7 separate regions of the Homo sapiens genome follow, and regions 1, 2, 3, 4, 6 and 7 are each linked to region 5. The links are contacts of gene promoters, found by promoter capture Hi-C in blood cells and fetal thymus (Javierre and others, 2016). All regions are on one chromosome and are shown on one strand. The core of a region is centred on a gene start or on the middle of the fragment in contact, and the rest is flanking DNA. Distances in the headings are between cores, read along the strand shown. Region 1 overlaps LOC124904265 (a long non-coding RNA gene). Region 2 overlaps LOC124904265 (a long non-coding RNA gene). Region 3 has its middle 63 kb from the start of CTAGE1. Region 4 overlaps LOC124904262 (a long non-coding RNA gene). Region 5 holds the start of GATA6-AS1 (GATA6 antisense RNA 1 (head to head)). Region 6 has its middle 230 kb from the start of CTAGE1. Region 7 has its middle 170 kb from the start of CTAGE1.

What was found. Contacts are between HindIII fragments. The CHiCAGO score rates a contact against its expected background, and 5 or more counts as called.
Region 1: a contact is called between a fragment that was not itself captured here and the fragment with the promoter of GATA6-AS1 in region 5, in 4 of 17 cell types (endothelial precursors, total CD8 T cells, megakaryocytes and 1 more). The highest score is 12.5, in endothelial precursors.
Region 2: a fragment that was not itself captured here is called in contact with the fragment with the promoter of GATA6-AS1 in region 5 in 2 of 17 cell types (total CD8 T cells and endothelial precursors); the score reaches 5.8 in total CD8 T cells.
Region 3: a fragment that was not itself captured here is called in contact with the fragment with the promoter of GATA6-AS1 in region 5 in 1 of 17 cell types (megakaryocytes); the score reaches 5.1 in megakaryocytes.
Region 4: a contact is called between a fragment that was not itself captured here and the fragment with the promoter of GATA6-AS1 in region 5, in 1 of 17 cell types (endothelial precursors). The highest score is 6.2, in endothelial precursors.
Region 6: a contact is called between a fragment that was not itself captured here and the fragment with the promoter of GATA6-AS1 in region 5, in 1 of 17 cell types (endothelial precursors). The highest score is 5.0, in endothelial precursors.
Region 7: a fragment that was not itself captured here is called in contact with the fragment with the promoter of GATA6-AS1 in region 5 in 1 of 17 cell types (endothelial precursors); the score reaches 6.4 in endothelial precursors.

What each region holds. Positions count from the first base shown.
Region 1 is chr18:22,567,698-22,571,105 of GRCh38, reverse strand. All of the region lies in intron 2 of LOC124904265 (a long non-coding RNA gene), which reads right to left. Among named protein-coding and RNA genes, the nearest start is that of CTAGE1, 150 kb to the right of the region's middle. The HindIII fragment of the contact is 389 bases long and covers 1,655-2,043 here.
Region 2 is chr18:22,543,086-22,546,223 of GRCh38, reverse strand. It overlaps LOC124904265 (a long non-coding RNA gene), which reads right to left. Exons shown (of 3, transcript XR_007066310.1): 2 at 2,503-2,666. Among named protein-coding and RNA genes, the nearest start is that of CTAGE1, 130 kb to the right of the region's middle. The HindIII fragment of the contact is 1,967 bases long and covers 599-2,565 here.
Region 3 is chr18:22,479,299-22,482,669 of GRCh38, reverse strand. No RefSeq gene overlaps it. Among named protein-coding and RNA genes, the nearest start is that of CTAGE1, 63 kb to the right of the region's middle. The HindIII fragment of the contact is 6,192 bases long and covers 1-3,371 here.
Region 4 is chr18:22,607,933-22,611,570 of GRCh38, reverse strand. LOC124904262 (a long non-coding RNA gene) reads left to right here. Exons shown (of 2, transcript XR_007066307.1): 2 at 1,378-2,017. Among named protein-coding and RNA genes, the nearest start is that of CTAGE1, 190 kb to the right of the region's middle. The HindIII fragment of the contact is 1,461 bases long and covers 1,417-2,877 here.
Region 5 is chr18:22,166,584-22,170,217 of GRCh38, reverse strand. GATA6-AS1 (GATA6 antisense RNA 1 (head to head)) reads left to right here and starts at 1,250. Exons shown (of 2, transcript NR_102763.1): 1 at 1,250-1,551; 2 at 1,835-3,320. GATA6 (GATA binding protein 6) reads right to left here and starts at 629. Exons shown (of 7, transcript NM_005257.6): 1 at 536-629. RefSeq lists an enhancer at 2,481-2,984. The HindIII fragment of the contact is 8,900 bases long and covers 1-3,634 here.
Region 6 is chr18:22,644,327-22,647,575 of GRCh38, reverse strand. No RefSeq gene overlaps it. Among named protein-coding and RNA genes, the nearest start is that of CTAGE1, 230 kb to the right of the region's middle. The HindIII fragment of the contact is 241 bases long and covers 1,594-1,834 here.
Region 7 is chr18:22,588,083-22,591,182 of GRCh38, reverse strand. No RefSeq gene overlaps it. Among named protein-coding and RNA genes, the nearest start is that of CTAGE1, 170 kb to the right of the region's middle. The HindIII fragment of the contact is 3,205 bases long and covers 1-3,047 here.

The DNA.
Region 1 (3,408 bases), core at 600-3,099, 400 kb before region 5:
AGGGCACCAGGTTCTAGCAAAAGTTCAGGGATGGATGCTAAAAATGGGAGGTCCCTTAAAAGTTCATATAGAACTATAGACCCCAGAATTGTTTCCATCAATTGATGCAGTCAGCTGAATGCACCCACCCCACCCTCAACAGGAGACAGGAGTTTAGGCCCTGAAGAGATTGAATCAGAAAGCTCTGAATTTGTGGCCAATTGGCACAAAGCAGGTAGAGATGGGCTGAGGGAAAGGAAAGCTAGGAACGAAGAGTACACCACCCCAGTCCTCTTTCCCACCATCTCAGAACGTGGCCAGGCCTTCACCCACAGCTAAGACCTTGGAATAGCCTTCTTCGGGTACCTTGAACCACCTGCAGGAGGGATGTGAAGGTACAGTTGCATGGGAGTACCTGACCACAATGCAGTGATGCCCAGTCATTCCACAGCGAGGCACTGCTTCCCACAGAGGTCTCAGTCAGGTGTTCAGTGCCTCATTCTTAAATAGAATTAGACAGCTAGCAACAAATGGCATTGAGGGAAGCCTGCACCAGGAAAGACAGTGTCCAAAATACACAGGAAAGCAAAGGAGCTTGAAGGAGACAGACATTGCAAGAGGAGAAGAAAACTTCTTAAAAGCAAACTATAATACTCTCAGAGACATGGTATCCATGAAACAGATGAGGGAGATATAAAAAGAACAAGAGTTGTAGTCAATTAAAAATATGATAGCAGAAATAAAATATTCCGTTAAAAGGTCAGAGACAAAGTGAAGGAACTCTTCCAGAAAGTAGAATAAAAACACAGAGATGAAAAACAAAAGGGAAAAGATGAGAAAATTAAAGAATCAATTCAATACCATACTAATGAGCATTATGGAAAGAAACAAAACAGGTGCAAATTATCTCTATATACATTTTTTTAATAACTAAGCAACCGGAGCCTTCCAAGTGTCAAACCAGTGAATTAAGAGAAGACTCATGCTATGGCACATCATTTTGAAACTTGGAATACAGGGAATAAAATAATATTCTAAACATTTCCAAAGATAGAGTAAAGCATCATCTGCAAAACATCAGGAATAAGGGCAGTGACCTTTCCATTTGCACCACTGAAAGCTGGAAGACAATGAGCAATGACTTCATGTTCTCAATAAAAATAATATTTTAACTTAAATTTGATACCCAGTGAAACTATCAATCAACTTTGAGGGTTGAATAAAGATATTTTCAGATATGGAAAGTCTCAGAAAAAGTTATGTCCCATGCATTTTTTTTCTCAGGAAGCTCTCAAAGGATGCGACACCAAGGGAATATAAGGGAGTATGCAAAGAAAAGAGAAGAGAGTATGCCAAGAAAAGAGAAGATGTGGAATCCTGGAAAGAAGGGATCTAATACCGCGGAGGTGCCAGGGGAAATACCAGGACAATAGCTGTGCAGGAGACCTACAGAGCAGCTAGGCAAACTGAAGCAGGTGGATAAGGGATGACTCCAGAAAAACAAAATGAAACTGACAGAACAATTTCTAGATTTGACTCTGGAAAATTGTATTGAGAGGCCCTTTACAAAACTGTTGGGGTGTGTGAAAAGATTTGGCAGGGGTGAAAAAAAAAACAGACCCCTAAGTGAATGAGAATACGAGACAACTATTAACTCCAAGAAAAACAAAAAGCTTTGCAAGAAAAATTAAATCATAAAACACGACTTTGCTGGAAAGCCCAGCAATATAGGAAACAACATGTTCATAGTCATAATAATGAACGTTGATTAGGGAGTGAACAAAAAATTGAGGTAGTAGAAAGGAAAGGAAAAGGGGTATGTAGAAGAACTGAAATGTTGTTCACCATAACAGATAATGTCCAAATAGATAAATCAAGTAATATAAGTATGTTCATTAGAAATACAGAAGTAAATATCAAAATAAACAGCTAAAAAAGTTGAAAGTGGTTGCCTTCAGGGTTTTAGAGAGAGAGAGAGAGAAACAGTGTCTCTGTGTGTGTGTGCACGCGAGTGTGTGTAAAGGGGAGGGAGAATGGAGTAGCTGCTGTTTTTTATTAAAAGCTTCTTAGCACAATCTGATTTTTAAATAATGTGTGTGAATTATAGTGACAAAAATTGTTTTAAAGCTATATTTGAAAGAAGAAAGTCTAGAAACATCATGTGTTAGTAGAAGTCTTCATTGACATAAGGTGAATAAATGACTATCAACCAAGAGTGGTTTCTACTTTTTTTCTTTTGGAGACTTTTACTAGCAGGCACCTAATTTCTGTGTTTTGCTTTTACTCATGAGTTGAACAGAGTGATGGATATATATCCATCGCTATAATATCTATGGATATTATATCAAACTTAAAACTAGATAATTACACTGTCTTAATAGGTGGAGTAAGACATTATTAAATCCAAAGACTCTTACTGTCATCATCACTTTAATATGAAGGTAAATAGTTATAAACTGCACTTGTGGTATATTGTGAATTTTTGTTGTAACAAACAAGATTTAATGCAAAAGAGCTCTTTTGCCTCAATCTCTTTATATTTTATTCCCTGTTTCTAAGGGCATTACATTTAAATAGCAGCCATAGCCTAATAATAATTTTGTATGCAGTAAATGTTTTAACATTCTCCTTTAAATTATGAATAAAGATAATCTCCTTTATGAACAATAAAGGAACTCATACATAACCATAAGCCATAAGAATGTTTTCCTTATTTCACTTCTTTCTCAATGGAAATTATAAAGTTGGTAATAGAAACTCTTTCCAGGAGCATCATAATTGCTAAACTTGGAATTGCAGGTACTCAATTGCAATCAGCTGAATGTCACACATGCCATAACTTTACGAGTTTGACTGGGGTCATGCAAAGATAATCAGGGTTATAACGCTAATGCTTTCATTTACTAGCTGGGTGACAATGATCAAGTAGGTCACTGCATGCTTTTCATCCTCCACATGCATATATATTAAAGGAGTGAGAATACCAGCTATAGCAAATAGTTTCTTTACATGCACCAACTTCAGTGAATGGTAGAGGCTACCCAGAGCTCTGTTTTAAGAAGAATTATGAGACTGTATATGTCTGTGTTCAATTAGAAATTGCTGAGATTGATTAGTTATGTCTGGAGATTGATTAGTTATGTCTGCCTTAAACAGTAACTAAGAAAGTGCCTATCCTGACTCCATGTATTTGTCAAGCCTAGATTAGATTGTCTGGAAGATTAACTTCAGGCTCAACATTATTCTATTCCAGCCTATGATTTTTATTTTCTACATTGAGCCAATAAAACTTACCATTCTTTTCTTTCTTCACAGTGCATTTATTAGATTATAGAGCTAATAAATTAGATCTATGGATCTTAAGAAAAATGTATATAGTGCTTTTAGCCACTTAAATGAAGAAAAGTTGTGTCAAATAGCGTTTTTTAA
Region 2 (3,138 bases), core at 333-2,832, 380 kb before region 5:
TAGGCTTCAGGCTATCTGTGAATTTGCATCTCCTCCTTGGAGAAAGGATCTTGTACTTTTTGGATTCACTGCACTGGGGAGTGAAGTGAATCGCTAAACCTCAAGGGCACATCCAGAGACTAACTAATTAATCCCAGCATTAAGGGAAGACCTGTCCACATTCCGTACACTGGTGAGGCTCATTATATGGTGTATGTAGATGCAATTCATGAACTGGGATATGAAGTCGTGGCAACTTAATCTTGACAGTGTTGTAATGAATAAAGCATGTCCAAAGCTTGGTAGGTTAGGTGATACCTCTGCAAAGCATCACCATGAACCTACCAATGGAAGCACGTTTTAATTGTGTTTGGCTTCTTGTATCTCAGCTTTAGATCATGTAACCTGTGGAGAGCATCCATTGGTTGACATGTTTTGCTGAGTTATTTTGTAGTTTATGAGATGTGGAAGAAAGAAACTCGGCTCCCAGCTATTACCTAAGATTCACAGGGCTTTGCTCAATTTGCAAATGTTCTTTCTGTGGTTGACTTCATTAGCTTCTCTCCACCCCAGTTTTGGCTATTCTTAGAAGGGGAATTAAATCATTGAAATCCAAGCTTCTCAGGTTTCCCTGCCCCCAGGGAGAGTAGATTTAGAGTGTTCATAAGAAAATCAACTCACCCCTAATCAACTGGCTCAAAGAGACTCAAAGTGTTCCCCGCCCCCCGCCTTTGACAATCCTTCCAATAAAACTTCTTCACTTCTTCTGTCTTTAGGTGGGGAGCTCTCTCAGAAAGTTCACACAGTGAGTGTGGTTTGTGCATTCAATATTAAGATCTAATCATTGTCTCTTGAGGGCTGAAGAATGAAAACACTGGATAAGAGCCCACCTCCTGGCTTCACGCTTGTCAGGACCAGGATCTATTAACCTTTTAAAGAAATACTGATAATAAAAAGCAGACAAAGAGAGCCATGTGAATTGGCATCTAATCAATAATGTTCTGAGTTTTTTCCCCCTTAGGTTACTCAGAGCCGCGTGAGCAAACAAGATTTTACTGTTCCAAGCCCTGCTGTCTTGTGCATAATGCATAACTCTCTTGCACGCTCCCATTCTCTTCTGAGACATTTTATTATTATTATCATCATAGAAGAGGTCAGATTCCCTTTAATTAAAGGATATACAAGTCAGAAACTCCCCACCTCACTTTCCCCAAAATTAAAGAATTGCAAGGCTGGGTTTCCCTCCCATTGCCTCCTGGCTGGGCAGGACCCCAGTGGTAGGAGGTTGGGAGGATGTGGTACAAGGATGTGGTGTGAGGACCTGGTGCTGGGACCCGTGCCACCACGCCCAGGCAGCTGCTTTCTTTTTCTGCATTAGTTCCTCATGTTATTTGACCTAGAAACTTTGGATGTGGACTGCATCACATTTTTGGAATGATACATTTTACTCATTAAACCTTTTGCCCTATAGTTGATTTATTTCTCCTGGGCTAAAATTGGACTCATCCTGAAACAGGCGTCTTTGGCACAGCAGAAACTTCAGCACTAGCGAGTCTCCTCATAACTGGTGTCATGGGATGTTCTGGTTTACCCTTAGTTTACTTCCCCTGTCTGCCATCTCATCCACCCCTCCAGCCCTTCTCTCCTGCTCTCTCCAAATTCGGTCCCCACCCTTGACCCCTACTACATATATCACCGAAAGAAGAAATGCATAGATGACTCTTCCTGAGCAAAGTCGATTCCTTATTTCAGCATGGGTGTGCCTGATTTCCTAGGTGCATGCCAGGCAGCCCAAGAGTGGCATTGGTTTTGACCTGTCATCCTTAATCTCCACCGATGGGGTGTTTTGAAGCACTGCCTAGCCAAGTTCACCTTGGTGGACCCTTTAGGGGAGCACTATGATGCCAAAAGAAATCACACAACATGAGGAAGAGGCAAATGAAAGGTAAATGGTAGTTTACAAGGACTTCTATTTTTCCATTAAAAACACAAAAAATCTATGTTCCAAGCTAGGACTTGAAATAGGTGTGGTCAGTGCCATTGGCCAGTCTCTGCGATAAATTCTCCTCTTAAGAAAAAAAGAGTAGGAGATTATTTAAAGCACCCACTTACTCTCACTAAGTTCAGATCCTCTCAAAATTAGACCAAGAAAAATCCATTTCTATATCAAGCATGCCTTCCAGAATGAACTTAAATGTACACAACTTTCCAGGCCCGATCTGAAATCCTGTTTGAATTCCAGCCAGGCCTTGACCCCAGGGGATGTGAGGAACAGGAGTGGCGAAACCAGTTATTGTCTATTTCGTTAGATGCTGGAGTTGAATTTGGGAGCATGATTAATGCTAGCTCCTTCTTCCCCTCCCTCCAGCCAAACGCTCAAATCACCCAGGCTTCTTGCAGGATAAACATGTCTGCTAGTTTGTTCCCAGGAATTCTCCTATAGTTTTCCTTGTAATATATTAATCTGCCCCTTTCATCGCCTTTCCCCCAACTTAACTGGCACCTTGCCCCTCCACTCTTTACCTGTTTGAACCTGGATTTGAAGGCTTGGATCCTCTTGGGAGTCTGTGCACATTTGTCAAAGCTTAGTCAAGGTCCCCCCAAGCCAGAATGGAGTTTGCTTTTCCTGTGTTTATGCTCTATTCCCAGGACCTCGCTTGTCTGTTTCTGGTGCTCAATCATTATTCCTGTGGAAGAAAGTAATTTTTAATAGTTTCAATAACTATTTAAAGAACCTGAACGAATATCCACATTTTAAAAGAACCCAGGCCTAATGTGTCCTCTTTCCCCAACCACTTCCCACAGTCACCCAACGTTTAGGGAGAGCCTTTGATGAGGCAGCAGCTTGGCTGTGTCTTCACTACACGATTCTATTCAATCTCACCACCAGCCTTTATGCAGGACTCTGCACATGGCAGGCTCTCGATAAATGGGCTCTGGTTAAGTGGACTACCTTATGGAACAGAGTTATCAGTATCAGCTGAACCTTTTTATTTTATTTGTTGAGACATGGTCTCACTGTATCACCCAGCCTGGGTTGCAGTGGCACAATCATGGCTCACTGCACCCTCAACTTCCTGGGCTCAAGCGATCCTCCCACATTAGCCTCCCAAATAGCTGGGACCACAGGTGCACACCACCACACTCAGCTATTTAAAA
Region 3 (3,371 bases), core at 405-2,904, 310 kb before region 5:
CTTCTATCTAACTGTATGTTGGTATGCTTTAGCCAACCTCTCCTTATCCCCCCTTCACACCCACAAAGGTTTCCCAGTCACTGGTATTGATGCAAGATAGGCAAACCCCCAAAACTGGGGCTTAGCCAGGGAGGGTTCTCGGCTTTGCCCAGGAAAGAATTCAAGGGCAAGCTGGTGGTGTCAGACAGCAACTTTTATTGAAGCAGCAGTGTACAGCAGAAGCAGAGGTACTGCTCCTTGCAAAGCAGGGCTACCCCAGAGGCAGTATGCCCAGAATGGCAGCTCAGAGGCAGTTCTGCACTCATATCTATACCCACTTTAATATATGCAAATTAAGGGGCAGTTTATGCAGAAATTTCTAGAATGAGGATAGTAATTTCTGGGTTGTCACCATGGAGAGGGGCAGTAACTACCAGGTGTTGCCATGGCAATGGTAAACTGACATGACATACTAGTGTATATGTCTTACAGAAAGCTGCTTTTGCCACAGACCTGTTTTAGCTAGTCCTCAATTTGGTCTGGTGCCTTAGCCCTGCCTTGGGAGTCATTTCTGCCTCCTACCTCAGTAGCTATCATTCTACTGTCTACATTCATGAGATTAACCTTTTAAGCTCCCATATATAAGTGACAATATGCAATATTTGTCTTTCTGGCTTATTTCACTTAAGATAACGACCTCTAGTTACATCCATGTTGCTGCAAATGACATGATTTTATTCTTTTTTATTGCCAAATAGTATTCCATTGCATATATATACCACATTTTCTTTATCCATTTGTCCACTGATGGACACTTAGGTTGATTCCATAACTTTGCTGTTGTGAATAGTGCTGCCAAAAACATGGGGTGTAGCTATCCCTTTGATATACTCATTTCCTTTCCTTTGGATAAATATCCAGTAGTGAGGTTGCTGGATCACGTAGTTCTATTTTTAGTTTTTTGAGAAATTTCCATACTGCTTTTCATAGTGGCTGTACTGATTTACATTTACCAATAGTGTATAAGAATTTCCTTTTCTTTACTTTCTCACCAACAACTGTTCATTTTTGTCTTTTTAATAATAGCCATTCTAACTGGAGTAAGATAATATCTCATTATTGTTTGATTTGCATTTCCCTAATGATTAGTGATGTTGAGCATTTAAAAATATACCTGTTGGTTATTTAATGTTTTCTTTTAAGAAATGTCTATTCATGTCATTTGGCCACTTTTTATGAGTTTATTTGTTTATTTTCTGTTGAGTTGTTTGCATTTCTTGTATATTCTGGATATTAGTCCCTTGTTTGATTTATAATTTGCAAATATTTTCTCCCATTTTATAGGTTGTCTCTTCACTCTGTTTATTGTTTCCTTTGCTGTGCAGAAACTTTTTAGTTTAATATAGTCCTTTTTGTCTATTTTTGGTTCTGTTGTCTGTGCTTTTGAAGTCTTAGCCATAAAATCTTTGCCTAGACCGATGTCTTAAAGTGTTTCCCCCAAGTACTCATCTAGCAGTTTTATAGTTTTAAGTCTTACATTTAAGTCTAATTCATCTTGAGTTTATTTTTTTGTATCTATGGTGAGAGACAGAGATCTAGTTTCATTCTTCAGCATGTGGCTATCCAGTTTTTCCAGCAATATTTATTGAATAGAGTGTCCTTTCTCCAATGTATGTCCTTGGTGCCTTTGTTGAAAGTCAATTGGCTGCAAATACATCAATTTATTTCTGGTTCTTTACTCTTTTCTGCTGGTCCATGTGTCTGTTTTGATATCAATATCATGCTGTTTTGGTTACTATAGTCTTGTAACATATTTTGAAGTTAGGTGGTATGATGCCTTCAGCTTTATTCTTTTTACTCAAGATTGTTTTGTCTATTTGGTCTCTTTTTTGGTTCCATAGAAGTTTTAGGATTTTTTTTCTATTTTTGTGAAAAATGACAATGGTATTTTGATAGAGACTGCATTGAATCTGTAGATGTGTTTGGGTAGTATGGTCATTTTAATGATATTAATTATTCCAACCCAAGAACATGGGATGTCTTTCTATTTGTTTGTGTTCTCTTTAATTTCTTTCATTAGTGTTTTGCAGTTTTCCTTGTAGAAATATTTCACTTAACTAGTTAAATTTATTCCTAGGCTTTTAGTTAGTTTTTTCTGTAGCTATTGTAGATAGAATTACCTTCCTGATATCTTTTTCATCTAATTCATTATGGGGGTATAGAAACACTACTGATTTTTGTTTGTTGATTTTGTATTCTGCAACTTTGCTGAATTTATTTATTACCTCTAAGAGCTTTTTGGTTTTCTAGATATAAAATCGTATCATCAGCAAAGAGGGACAATTTACTTCCTCTTTTCAAATTTGGATGCCTTGTATTTTTCTTTCTTGCCTGATTTCTTTGGCTAGGACTTCCAATATTGTGTTGAATAGGAGTAGTGAAAGTAGGCGTTCTTGTCTCTTTTCAGTTCTTAGAAGAAAATCTTTTAGTTTTTCCCCATGTTAGCTGTGGGTTTGTCATATATAGCTGTTATGTTGAGATATGCTCCTTCTATGCCTAGTTTATTGAAAGATTTTAATGAAGTTATATTGGATGTTAATAAATGTTGTTTTCTGTGTCTGTTGAGATGATCATGTGGATTTTGTCCTTCATCTGTTGATGTAATGTATCACATTTATTGATTTGCATATGTTGAGCCATCCTTGCAACCTGGGATAAATCCCACTTGATCATGGTGTATTGTCTTTTTGATATGCTGTTGCATTTTGTTTGCTAGTAATTTGTTGAGGATTTTTGTCTCTATGTTCATCAGGGATATTGGCCTGTAGTTTTCTTTTTTGTCACATCCTGGTCTGGTTTTGTATCAGGGTGGTGCTGGCATTATAGATTGAGATAGGGAGAATCCCTTCTTTTTTAATTTTTTTGTAACAGTTTGAGGAGAATTGGTATCAGTTCTTTGTAAGTTTGGTAGAATTCAGCAGTGAATTTATCTGGTCCTGAGCTTTTGTTTTTTTGGAAGAATTTTTATTACTGATTCAATTTTTCTACTCATTATTGGTCTGTTCAGGCTTTTTATTCTTTCCTGATTCAATCTTGGTAGGCTGTATGTGTCCAGAAATAGATCCATTTCCTCTAAATTTTCCAGTTTGTTAGTGTATAGTTGTTTATAACAACGTTTGATGATCTTTTGTATTTCTGTGGTATCACTTGTAATGTCTTCTTTTTTGTTTCTAGTTTGGTTTATTTGGGTCTTCTCTCTTTTTTCTGATTAATCTAGTTAGGAGTTTATTGATCTTGTTTATCTTTTCAAAAAACTAACTCTTCATTTAACTGATTTTTGATATTGTATTTTAGTCTCTATTTTGTTTAGTTCTGCTCTGATCTGTATTATT
Region 4 (3,638 bases), core at 898-3,397, 440 kb before region 5:
GCAGGGCACTGAGTTGAGCGTCATGTAGGATATAAAGGTGAGTAAGAAATAGATGCTTTCCTCCAGGAGCTAGGAGACTAGCTAAGAATCTAGGATAAGGACACAGCACTTCAATCGAAGACATTAAGATGGTACAAATAAAGTGTGTAGGTTCTATTTATGGTAACCTAGGAAACATAAAAGCAAAGGAGGAGTTTTAAAAAATACTCGCTTGGAAATTAACATTTCTCTAAGATCAATGGTCAGTTCTCTTTATTAGTCTAGAGGCAGCAAACTTTTCTTTCCTGGGGCCTTATCCACAGCAGGTGCTTAGGTTACTTTATTAGAAATAGCAATAGTTTATGAGAACTGGACAGAAAGACTGCCACCTTCTTCACTCTCTCTAGCATCAGTGCAAAATCATGTGGAGGTTTGATTGTTAAAAAGCTACTAGACATGGTTTTGTGGTTTGCATTTGACCTAATCTACAAGATTGTTTTAGAGCTAAATGTTTTGAGGAAGGATCCATAGATCTTAAGAAATAAAAGAACTATAAGCAAATTGATCCAACTCCTTGTTTTTAAATAGATAAGGTGTCTTTAGTCCCCATTTGATGGACACTATTCAGAGATTGAATGCATTGCTGGAAGTTGCATGTGGTATAAGCATAGGAAGACTGGACTCCTGGTCCTTTGCCTCCCAGGACAGCGCTGTTGCACCACCTCTTGTAGATGAGAAAATTAAAACACAAAATTCCTGCGCATTGGTAGAAAACTCTTGTTTTTGTTTTCTTGCCTGTTAATCCAAACCTCTAGCTATAAAATAATATTATTCTTGGAGATCTTAATTGTCATTATTTATGTAAGATTTATACCACATCTATTTCCAAAAAAATTTTTAAATACATTGCAACCTTATATACACTACAGAATAAAACATCTAGAAACAGAACAACACCCTTTTTTTCTGAAAATTAGACAGAGTTAGCAAATAGCTGACGGGCAAGCATATGTTATTCCACTCCAGGATGGAATTTAGTTTTGAAGTTTCTTTGCAGATGAGATAAAATTATAAGTGTGTGAAACTATATTATTCCCTTACCTATTGGCTTTAAATTGGATTTCCAAATTTAGTAGAACCCAAAAATGAGAAGAAAGTGTTTTTTAATAGACCTTGTAGATGATCTTTCAAGTTTTGACCTTGTATAAAGCATTAGATTAAGAAACAAAGTATAAAAAACAATTACTCTTCAGTACTTGTGTGCATGTGTTTTAGAAGGATAATGGCAGTGGGCACATTTCTGGACCTGCAGCATGGGTGGGGAAAGTTTCTCTTTTGTGGGAGGGATGTCTAAAGTTTTCTCTAATTGTTTTTAGAATACCTATTTTTTTTTTCTAGAAAGAACGTCGGTCCTGGCAGTCTTTCAGCCACAAAGCTTTGAGAAATGGGGCTAAATATTAATAATAACTGCTTGGATTATAATGAGGAATCAATCAAAACACATACTGTTGATGAAGATGCCTTGAACACCGTGGATGCTGTAGAATAAGGGATTATGACTACAGCAATTCTTGGCTCCCTTCTCTGTTTGTTTAAGGGTTACACAGGCTTTGTTTAATATCTCCGTGTCTCAGTCCTTTCGGTTGAAGCACAAGGCATGCTTCAGCCACCTGAGATTAACTGCTAAACCCTGCAGCAAGCCAGCATCTCCTCCCTGCTGCCTCTCATCCGTCAGGATCTGCTCTGGAAATGGGCCAGTGGTGACGTGTGGGAATGCAGCCCTTTGTGTTTGTTTTTGGTGTTGGATTTGGTGGCCTTGGTCACGGATTGGCTTCCTTCTTTGAAACTGAACATCTTCCATGCCTTTGTGATTGAGTGACAAAAGTTCAACCTGCACATGCCAAAATGAACAGCCTAGAAAACTGATTATGGTTTCAGGACCAGCTTTAAAAAAAAGCAACAAAACCCTTCCAGTCACCCAGAGTTCTAAACATAATCGGTTGGTTCCCAGAAGTACAATAAAAGGAAGCCAGAAGTATTTTAGTCCCTAGTTGTTTATGAATCAACCTGATTTTCTTTTTCAGACTTTGAAGGTCACAGAATCAAATCATGTGGAGCCATTTCCATCAGTCCTCCTACCCACCCTTTCTCCCCTGTTCTCTGTTGCAAGTAGGGTTTTGCTAGGTTTAAGTAGAACATTGCTCAGAATTTCCAGGGGTTCTTAATTAAAGCAGGTTTCTTTTCCAAGAAAGCTGCCTTGGAAATTACTGGAAGGGAAGCAACAGTGACAAGTAAAGCAGGCGTCAGAATACCTTCAGTGTACCCCAGCCCTGCTCCTCCCCTAGAGCACAGGCTCAGGAGTTCTGCTGGCCTTAGGTAGAAGCCAAGGAAGAGGGGCCTGCACTCATCTTTCTGAGTAAGCCAGGGCACTTCATGTCTGGGATAAAGCCAGCAGGGCATGGGACATGGCATGGAACTGAATTTATATAGGAAGTAGACAATTAAGCCTGAGTCTTAGACACACACAGGAAGGTGACAGAAGAAGAAAGAATGACGTTTATTATTTTCTAGAGATCTAATCTAGAGAGCTTCAGTGTCCTTGCCATAATGTGACCTTTAAGGAACACAGCAAAAATCTTGGCATATTGCTTGCCAAATATTCAGGCACCTATTATGTGCCAATATGAATAGCACATAATAGGTACCTGAATAATGTAAGTTCTCTTCCCCACCTTTCCCCCACTTTTCTGCACATTGAATAGGATGATTTTAATTTTGCTTTACAAATTATTCAGTTATATCTGTTGTTATTTCATAATGTAAACAATTTCATATTGCTTATATTTCTTTTTTAGGACTTAATGAATAGCAAGGAAATATTTTTGTAATTGATAAGCTTGTTATGCAATTCCAGAAACCTCCTTTCAATGCCTCTAACATCCACATGGTACACTCTGGCACAAGTCAAAAAATATATTAAAAATAAGAACTAAGAATTATCAGATGCCAACTATGTGCAAGGCATTGTATTAGGTTCTTTATCTTAGGTTTTCCATTTAACCCTCAAAACAACCCCAAGGGCGAGGACGAGTCTTTCCCATCTCCCTGTGAGAAAGTAGCTTCAGAGAGCTCTTGCCCAGGTCTCACTGTGAGCAGGTGGCAAAGTTGTTGCTGGAGTATTGTTTACTCAAACTCCAGGGTCCAAGTTCCTTCCACCTCACATAATGCCAAGGCTCTACTGTAGGTACAGGAAGCGAGAGCAAGAGATCTTCTCACTGCCTTCCACAATGTGGCTTCCTTAAAAGCATTTGAAGAAGGAGATGGATTCTACCAACTGTAGACAGCATCTCTGCTGGGGCCAGGCTGAGGCAGGACGGGTCTTGGGGGTGGAGTCAGGATACTCCTTTCTCATCCAGCCTCCAGCCAGCTGTTTGTGTTTGGATTTTTCTGGGGGCTAAGAAGTTTCCCGGTAAGAGACGGTGAACTGGGTCTTCAAAGGGGGTCCTGATGTACACCAGCTCATCTGGAGAACAAAATGGGGAGAGCAGGGCAGGGTGACAGAGGTCAAATTGCTGGGGAGATTCTCCGGATGCCTGAGAGAGGGATCGACCTAAGGAAGGGGGATTCAGGCAGTGAGTCCAACTTACCAACAAGGTTGT
Region 5 (3,634 bases), core at 1-2,500:
GAGAAAAGGAGGGGGAACGCAACGGGCTGGGGAGGGGGGAGCGTGAGACCGCCCCAGAGCCGAGGCGACCCCAAATGGGAGAGCAGGAAGAATGACAGGGAGACTCGGAGCGAGTGGGGGAGGGAGGTGAAATGCAGCCGGGCTGGCCTCCTCCAGGCTGCTCTTCCAAATCGCCTCGGCTCATCGGAGATTACCACACTAAAATTAATGCCCACACACAGACCTGGCTAGATAGCAAGAAAGAAGTTTCTCTGCCTGCCTAACTACCGGCTCCCGCCCCTTTGCGCCGAGATAACTCGGAGATAAGGCTGCGCGCAGATAAGCGCTTCGAGGAGAGAAAAAGAGACTAGAAGTTGGTCCGCGGTGTCCCGGGAGCCTGGGAGCCGCCTCAGCCCGCCCGGAGGGAAGGAGGGAAACACCGTCGGAGCCGACCGCGGCCTGGAGAGGGCCGGAGAGCCGGAGGCCAGGGGCCCGCGACGAGTAGGGGTGGAGGGGAGGAAAGCGGGGAGATCGCGCGAGGAGGAAGCAGCCGAACCTCGGGCGGGCGCTGCGCATGGAGAACGGCCGCGGCGGAGGGTGCTCCCAGGCGCGGAGAGAAGCCGAGGGCGCCAGCGGGCGAGCGCGAGTCCGGGGTCTGCGCCGCGCTGCTGGTGAATAAAAAGGAGAGAGGAGGCGCCTCTTACTGCTCTGCCGGAAAACTGCAGCCTGGGCTCCTGATTGGACTCACCGAGCCCTAAACAAACAGCGCTCGCCGAAGGGTGCCAGGCTGTGGGTCGGAACTGCGCTCAGCGAGCAGCTGGGCGCTGGAGGTGAAGAGGAGGAGGAGGGATCGAGGGGAGGAGAGAAAAGAGGGTGGGGAGGGGACGGCGAGGGGGGAGGGGAGCGCGCCGCCCAGGCAGACAATGAGAGCCGCGCTGCCTGCGGGCGTGGGCTGAGCCGCAAGCCCTGTCCCCGGAGTGGGGGCGAGTCCACCCGGGGGGCACCGAGCCCAGGGACCCCGGGGGAGGGGCGGAGGCCACAGAACGCCTGACCTGGCTAGCGACCCGCACCCATCCAGCGGCGGTGCACCCTCCCGCTCCCGCAGTCGCACACACACACCCACACGAGGGAGGGGGAGGGAGCCTTGGCACGGGAGGAGTTGGCAGTGCACAGTCCCGCGCCGCCGCCGCGGCGGGAGGGGCGCTCCAGACCTTGGGTCAGCACGCCCCCAGAAGGAAGGGGGAACGTGCTCTGCGCCCCCCCGCCCCCCAACCCCCGCCTAGCCCCTTCACAGCAAATGCGCTTTTTGCCCTGAAGTTGTGTGAGACCGACCTTAAACTTTCTCCGACCCTATCTCGGGATGCTACGGCTCAGGTCGTGGTGGTTTCGGGAACCTCAAGACAACATTCCCCAGCTGACCTTTGGGAACTTTAACTCGGGTCGTCATGTACGGAAAGGTAGTCTATGGGGTACGCAGAATGGAAAAGGGCTTCCACATCAGTCGTGTCCGAGGACGCTCTCCAACTTTTGATGTCCCTGGAGAGTTTCTGATATTTCCCTGGAGAGTTTCAGGTAAGTCACAGATAAGTCACTGCGAAGAGGGGGTGTCACCTTCCCTGGACCCAGCGCTAAATGCTGCTTCCCCACCCCCACGTTCATATACACACCCCCTCTTCGCTCCCTCCAAACAGTTATCACAACTCTGTACAAACTGATACGGTCCCTAGCGGGCAAAAGGGACTGGAAATGAACGTCGCGGGGTTATCAGCGCCGATCTGTCAGCGGCAACTCGCGCGGCCGCAGGCTCGTCCGCTGCAGGAGCCGTGATATATGTCTCGCTCCCTTTCGCTTACAGAAAGGATTTCTTCCGACAGACGTGACCCCAGAAGGCTGCCGAGGGAGACTTTAGGACAAGAGGCGTTGTTTTTGTGAGAATGAATTTTTATACTTTACCCCGACCCCACCCCCTACCCCCCGCCCAGGTAAATCCAAGTAAATGATTTTCTGAAGGTCGGTCTCCTAGAAAGCGTTTAGGCTCTGGTTTTTTGTTTTGTTTCTATTTTCGTGTTTTCCCAGTTAGGGAAGGAAGAGGAGCCTGTGCAGAGTTGAACTGGGGTGGAGAGGTGCCTTGTAAAGTATGGTTTCCAGAGATGGTGAGACCTCGTAGCTAAGCGTTGTTTCCTCTGCACGTAACTGTGAGTTGTGAACTTGTGGCTCCTGGGGGAGCGGGACAGGGCCTGGCAGTGCGGGGGAGGGGGCAAGGAATTCAGGAAGTTGGCGAGAATTCTTCGTTTTTCATTCTTCGTTGTAAATTGCTTCTAAACACTTCTGAATTTTAAATTGCTACCGAGAAGGTCCAGAAACCGTTCTCATCCAATTTAGTCACTTTTATTACGTTCCACTTTGCCTCCCCCAATCACTGCGGCGGCTCCCAGTTTCAGCGTGGCCGCATTTGGAAAAGGCTGAAGGTAGAAAACTCTGGAATGGAGAGGCTGGCGACTGGAGCAGGATCCAGGGGCTTTAAATTTTAACCTGAATGCGATCGAATGCGCGACTCCCAGAAGAGATAGCCAGGCGTCCGCCCGGCCGCTCAACCCCCGCCAGGACTCGGAATGCCTTGCTTTTGGTTCTTTTCGTGAGTTCCGACCAAATGTTTAAGTGGACTGGGTTTTGCAGAAGCTCATTTGTAAGCACTGACGGAAATGGGTTGTGGGCATTTGATTTCCTTTGATTCCAACGTTTTGAAATAATGTTTCTCGGATTTGCTATTCGAAGCAATTTTCTAAAAACTCATATCTTATTTGCTAAAAATAAACTCTTTGGCTCAGTTTGTGTCCAGGCTGTGTACGGCCTCCAACCCTGAGCCCCGAGGAGATCGAGCCCTGGCGCGAGCCTGATCTCTGTCCTGTGTGTTTCTTTGTATTTGCAAGTACAAGGATGTCTGCGTGGATATCCCTGGACACTCGATACCCCCCGGGGACCTGCTTTTCCCGCAGCTCCGCAGACGCGGCGGGAGGGCGCGCTGGCCCCGGCGCTGCTGGGACAGAGGTGAGCAGCGGGGTGGACATTGACCGATTCGACAACGTTCGGGCTCTAAGGGCTCGGGAAGGGACCCGGCATTTTACCCTCCAGATTCCCAATCTATTTTTAAAAATAATGTTCAAAACATATGGGAAAAATAAGTGATTGCTCCTTTTCATGGTCACAGATTGTATTTATTTTTTCAGACTGGTTTTCCAACCTAACGAGGGAATGGGTAGTGAATGTTGTTGTTGTTGTTGTTGTTTATGTTGGTTAATTTCGAAATAAAACTGTTTAACTCGTACAGTTGATTCAGACAGAAAACCAGGCTGCCTGACGTCTCCAATGTGCCTTTTCCCCAATGCATCTTTGGCGCTAGGGACCGCTCTGGGGAAGACAAGCATGTTTTCAAAGCCACTCCCATGAGCCCCAGACCCGCGCGTGGAGCTTCCTGGGCGCGCCCCAGCTGGTCTGGAAGGCCGGCAAATTAGGAAGTTTGGAGGGAAGAGGTGCACCCCAAACTAGGGAGAAACCCAAGAGCTGGGGAGAAGGCCCCCACTAGTGTCCAAAGTACGCGGACAGCTCTTAAAAGTTATTGTTTTCTTCGTGGGGATATATATTTTTTCTTTTCCTT
Region 6 (3,249 bases), core at 465-2,964, 480 kb before region 5:
TTTTTTCTTAATACATAAATTACCTTTTTGAAAAGGGGAGGTATTTTTTCATATCCATGAATACTTTCATTCTTGTTGAGTGTATCAATTATTAAATATATTCATCATATATTATCTGACTAACTGATTTACATTTTGGGAATAGCTACTAAAAACAAATCAAAACAAAACAAAACTTGCTAGTCCAAATAGTTAAAGCCCAAAGCTAAGATACTCAGTAATTTTTGGGGGGGGTTAGAGAGTGTACATTATTCAATTGAGGTTATGATAAACTAGTGTACACATACTGCAAATTTAAGCTGTCCCTACCAGCTTGTTAGCCAGTTTGTGTAACCAAACTTTACATAGATGATTTTTGTTAGGAACTCTAGCATTGCCACAGTTTGCAGTCAATATTGAATGAGGCTTCTCAATTCTTGCTCTTTTCTTTCTTAGCTGAGTCAGCTATGATATTAGTCAAATAGCTGCCTAAAATTAATTTCCAAACGGTAATCATACTTGATCTTTAAAGGAAAAGATTAACACTGAAACCAACATGTATGTTGGTCCTTACAACTTTAGATATATGTGACTTCGTGAAAAGAATTCCCATTTTAATTAATTTGCTAAGGGTTATTAATTAATCTGTACTTATGTCTTAAGTTAAAGTGGAGATGATAGAAAATAGATAATAGATAACACACAGTATATGTTATTTCTATTATATAATTAATGCACAAATATATGCATATATAATATATATGCAGACAGAAGTTTTGATGGCATTCTTAGCACATCATAATACTATTGCCCATATAATTAGTAGTCCCCCCATTTTCGACTTAAACTAAAATTGCATTTTGAATTGTGATTCAGACTTCTTTCTGCTTACCAAGAAAGAAAAAATAGACATCCATATTCACCGGAATAGAGAAATTTGTATCAAAGTGTGAGGAAGTAAACTCACTGTATTTGTTTAAAGAGAGAGCAAAGGGTGGTAGATCATTTTAGTCAGGCTGATATAAAAGATGCCTTCCAAGGACACAATTAACAAATACCAAGATGCTTAATTTTAAACTACAGCACCTACCTGTAGCTTGTATATTTTTATACTACTTTATTGACTAAATCCAGTACATATTTTCCTTTAAATTACTTGTATTCATTTTTAGAGTTATTCCAATTCTGAGTATTTTAATTCTATTATAAAGTGTAAAATCTCTTTTTTTTTTTTTTTTGAGACAGCGTCTCACTCTGTTGCCCCGGCTAGAGTACAGTGGCGCGATCTCGGCTTACTGCAACCTCCGCCTCCTGGGTTCAAGCAATTCTCCTGCCTCAGCCTCCTGAGTAGCTGGGACTACAGGCACGCGCCACCATGCCCGGCTAATTTTTATATTTATAGTAGAGATGGGGTTTCACCATATTGGCCAGGCTGGTCTGGAACTCCTGACCTTGTGATCTGCCCACCTCAGCCTCCGAAAGTGCTGGGATTACAGGCGTGAGCCACCGCGCCCGGCTAAGTGTAAAATCTCTAAGCAGAAAATTTATGACTTTTTCTGATAAATGTGTAATAATGATCCAGGCAACTTTGATTTAGTAAATAAATAATAAGCTTTTATTCTATTGTATATAATTCTTTCATAGAATTCTTGCAGAAAGGGAATGATTCTCAGGAAAGAGATTTGAGTTCTTCCCTGGGAAGGTAATGCATTTCACCTACTCTTCAGTTAAGTTATGGATTTACATTCAGCAAGAGTAAATAGTGACACATTTTCTATCTTCTTATTCTGTCACTGTGCTAGGTTGTCTCAAGTAGAAAAATTATCCTCACTTTAAAAATAATTATGTAGAAGCTTGACTTTGGCATAAGTTAAAATTTTCCCAGATCTCAGCTATGACAGTTAGCATTCCTCCAGTTTGAAAGTTAACAAAAGTCTTGGCATTTCTCTGTAAGGAAAAATGTAGGCTCTTTCTTCCTATTCAGTTTTCAAAGTACAGTTAGTTGACCCCTGAACAACTTAAGATTTTGGTGCTGACCCCCCACGCAGTTGAAAATCCACGTATAACTTTTGACTCCTTCAGAAATTAACTACTGATAGCCTACTGTTGACCAGAAGCCTTGCTAATAACATAAACAGTCGATTAACATATATTTTGTATAGGTATTATATACTGTATTCTTACAATAAAGTAAGCTACAGAATAGAAAATGTTATTAAGAAAATCATAAGGGCCGGGCACGGTGGCTCACGCCTGTAATCCCAGCACTTTGGGAGGCCGAGGCGGGCGAATCACGAGGTCAAGAGATCTAGACCATTCTGGCCAACATGGTGAAACCCCGTCTCTACTAAAAGCACAAAAATTAACTGGGCGTGGTGGTGCTTGCCTGTAGTCCCAGCTACTTGGGAGGCTGATGCCGGAGTATTGCTTGAACCCGGGAAGCGGAGGTTGCAGTGAGCCGAGATCGCGCCACTGCACTGCAGCCTGGCAACAGAGCAAGACTCCGTCTCAAAAAAAAAGAAAGAAAGAAAATCATAAGGAAGATAAAATACAGTTACGGTACTGTACTGTAGTAATCACAGTAGTAAGTTTACATCATCTGTTTACAAGACGAATTGTCTGTCTGAGATGGTGGGCAAGTGCAGCGGCAGACCTCATTCTACAGTAATATATCAAGCAGTTCAACGTTTTCTTGTAATGTTATGACTTTTCTTGTAATGTTATGACTTTTCTCTGTTCTTGGGAGCATTTCCAGCATGGCTAGTGGCACTACATATGGATCCCATGGTATTATTCAAGGTTTACAATATTGCACTAAACACAATGAAAGATACCTAGAACTTTGAGAGATCACTTTTTACTGTGGTAACGCAGTATACTGGAGAGATGAACTGTTCACGCAAAGATGATTAGTGTCACACAGGGTTTTAAGTGGATACTTGCAACACTTGAGCTCATCTCAACAGCAACAGGAGGTGGCTATGAAATTATTACAGTAGTACAGTGTGTAGCATGGTTAGCTTTATGCAGTTATGATTTAATACTACATCTTTATATTTATGTGAATGGTGCCATGTAGAGTGTTTGTGTACCTAAGTTTTGGTAAGTTTTAACATTTTATAATAAATTCGTATATATTTTATGGTAGTAAGTGATAAACTAATATCTACATATATTTTGTGCATTTGTGACGTACCTTTTTTCTTAATCTTTTTGATATTTCTAAGCTCTGCTTTTTGTCTGTGAGTTTTTTGAAATTGTCACAAATCT
Region 7 (3,100 bases), core at 196-2,695, 420 kb before region 5:
TTCTTACTTTTACCACAGGATCCTTGGAAAGAATAAGAGAAACCACTTCTCCTCTTTGAGTTACTTAATGCCATGTTTTCTGGTTCTTTCCTGCCCCCTTTTCTCTCAAAAAGAGATTCAAAATTTGAACCACTATGATATCATACTACTAAATTTCTCACTAAATATACAGTCAGTTAAAAAACAACATATTCTTGAATCTAGGAAAAAAGCCACCATTTGAAATTGTCCTTCCTTCCTAGATTTATTAATGCCTGTATATATTTAAGTCTGTCCTGGTTATAGACATGGAGCTACAGGTATTCTGTTCATTATTCAAACCCACCGGTATTTTGTTCAATACATGCATCTTTCTCCCTGTTTTGTAGGTCTCAGTGAAGGAGATAAAAAAGTGGTAAAGTAAAAATAATAGAGAGAGTGAAGCCAAAAAGACTAGAGGTAGTGGTCAGAGAGTGGCCATCCTTAAAACTGTGGTGCTGGAGGAGGTGCTGTTAAGGTGTTTAGAAAGTCTAGGGTGTTACCATGAGGGTGAGTGTCTGAGGACAGAGGGAGAAGATCACTGGATGAGGGGAGGTGGAGGAACAGAATGGCCAAGATGTTGAAAGGATCATCTTTGTGGCTCTTGAAACATCAATAATTATGATGGGCATATTAAAGAAGTGACAGCAAGGGAAAAGGAAAAACATCAGGATATTTGTGACCAGGAGTGGTAGGCAAATGCAACAATGAGAAGGGTGTTAAAGCCTGAAAACAAGACATTCTAGGCTGGGAGTTTCAGGGAAGACAGAAGACAGAAGAAGAAATGACAACACAGGCCAGGCGCGGTGGCTCACGCCTGTAATCCCAGCACTTTGGGAGGCTGAGGCGGGTGGATCACGAGGTCAGGGGTTCGAGACCAGCCTGACCAACATGGTGAAACCCCGTCTCTACTAAAAATACAAAAATTAGCTGGTCATGGTGGCGGGCACCAGTAATCCCAGCTACTCAGGAGGCTGAGGCAGGAGAATTGCTTGAACCCGGGAGGCGGAGGTTGCAGTGAGCCGAGATCGCGCCACTGCACTCCAGCCTGGGCGACAGAGCAAAACTCCATCTCAAAGAAAAAAAAAAAAAGAAAAAAAAAGAAATGACAACACAGAGCTAGGAGAACCCCTAGCTCACCATATGCCTCATGGTAGAAGGATGTGGGGAGAAAGTGTCCCACCAGGAGAGGGCTGCAGGGTCCTCAGGTCCTTTTAGAGCAAAAACTGAAGGGGACTTTCAGAGAAGAAGCTGAGGGTTTGAGGATTTTGCTGGAGACTGTCCAAGAGCCATAGAGGGAACAGTGTAAAGGTTTCAGCAGTTGGAGAGGGATGAGACACAGGGTCAGAAAGAAAGTTAGAGTACAGGGGATGAGAGATAGCTTGTGGGTCCTGGGCTTCTTGTGGCGATGGATGTGAACACATAAAGGTGTAATGAAATTGTTTCTGATGGTCTTTCGGCCTATACTGGCGGTGAGGCTCTGAGAGTTGTAGGGAGGGTGGGGATGGAGTGGGAAGCATGGCCACAAACAGGCAAAGCCTTGGGCCTTCTTTTGATTCCTGTCTATGGTGAGCAGGAACAAGGAGAAGAAGGAAAGGGTGGTCTTATCTGGAGCACGAGGGGTTCAAAAGTATCTTTGTTTTTTTTTTTAAAGTATACTTTATCTTAAAGTGTAGAAATGCATGTAGAAAAGTGCACAAGTCATTGGTATTGTGATTCATAAGGTGGAGAACCTGTGTAACCCAACAACCAGGTGAGAAAAGAGAGCATCATCAGTATCCCAGAAGCTCCTACACAGCCCCACACAGCCCCTCCCAGGTAATAGCCTCCCCAAAAGTAAGCATTATCCTGACTCCTAAAACTATATATTAGTTTTGTCTTGTTTTGCATTCTGTATAGATGGAATTATGCAGTATATATTCTTTTGCTCAACATCATGTCAATGAGATGGATCCATGCTGTATGTAGCCAAAGTTTGCTCACTTTAATAGTGTTTGTAGGGTATTGTAGAAATATACCATAACTTTTTTCTCCCTTCCACTGTTGATGGATGTTTGGTTGTTTTCAGCTTTCAGTTGTTATGATCATTCTGGTACAAGTCTTTTACTGAACATATGTATGTATTTATTGTGGCTTAACCCTAAGAGATAATAGGGTATGTATATGTTCAGTTTTGTAGATACTGTCCGTTTCCCAAAGTGGCTGTGCAGATTTTTACTACCACCAGGTGTATAAGAGTTCCAGCTGTTTTTACAGTAATCTTAAATACCTTGTCAGTACCTATGAAGATGGTTATACAATTTTCCTCTTTTGATCTATGAATGCTGCTAATTAAACTGATAAACTTGCTGATGTTGAAACATCTTTACATTCCTGGAATACATCTACTTAGTTTATGTTGTGTTTCTCTGTTAAGTGGCTAGATTTTATTCACTGATGTTTTATTTAGAATATTTCCATTTATACTCATATCTGAGATTTATCTGTAGTTTTTGGTTGTGTGTTATTTTTGTTAGTTTTTGATACTGATTTTATGCTAGATTTATGAAAATAATTTGGAAGTGCTCCTTCTAAGTTCTGAAACCATTTAAATAGCATTGAAGTAATCTATTTCTGAAAGCCTTGGAAAAATTTTCCTCTGAAACTGTCTAGACCTGGTGCTTTCTTGGGTGAGATATTGGGGGATTAGGGAATTGGATGAAGGTAAAGTTCTTTTGCAACTTGCTATATTTCCTTTATGGTAATTGGTCTGCTTAGATCTTTCATCTCTTCTGGTGTCAGTTTTTGTAAACTACATTTCTTTATGAAAACATTTCATTTCCTTTTGTTTTTCAAATGTGTTTTTTAGTCATGGGCAATGTGGTTTCTTTGGATTCTTTTAGTTTACTTGGTTTTTGTGGTTTGTTTCACTTTTATGATATTTAAATTGTTATTTGTCCTTTCTTCCACGTATCTTGAATAGATTAGCTAACAGGTTATTCATTGTATTTATGTTGCAAAGAATTAGCAGTTACATTTAATGATAAGCTTTATTTTTTTCTATGTTTTCTAATTCTTTAACTTAGAATTCTTTTTTTTCTTT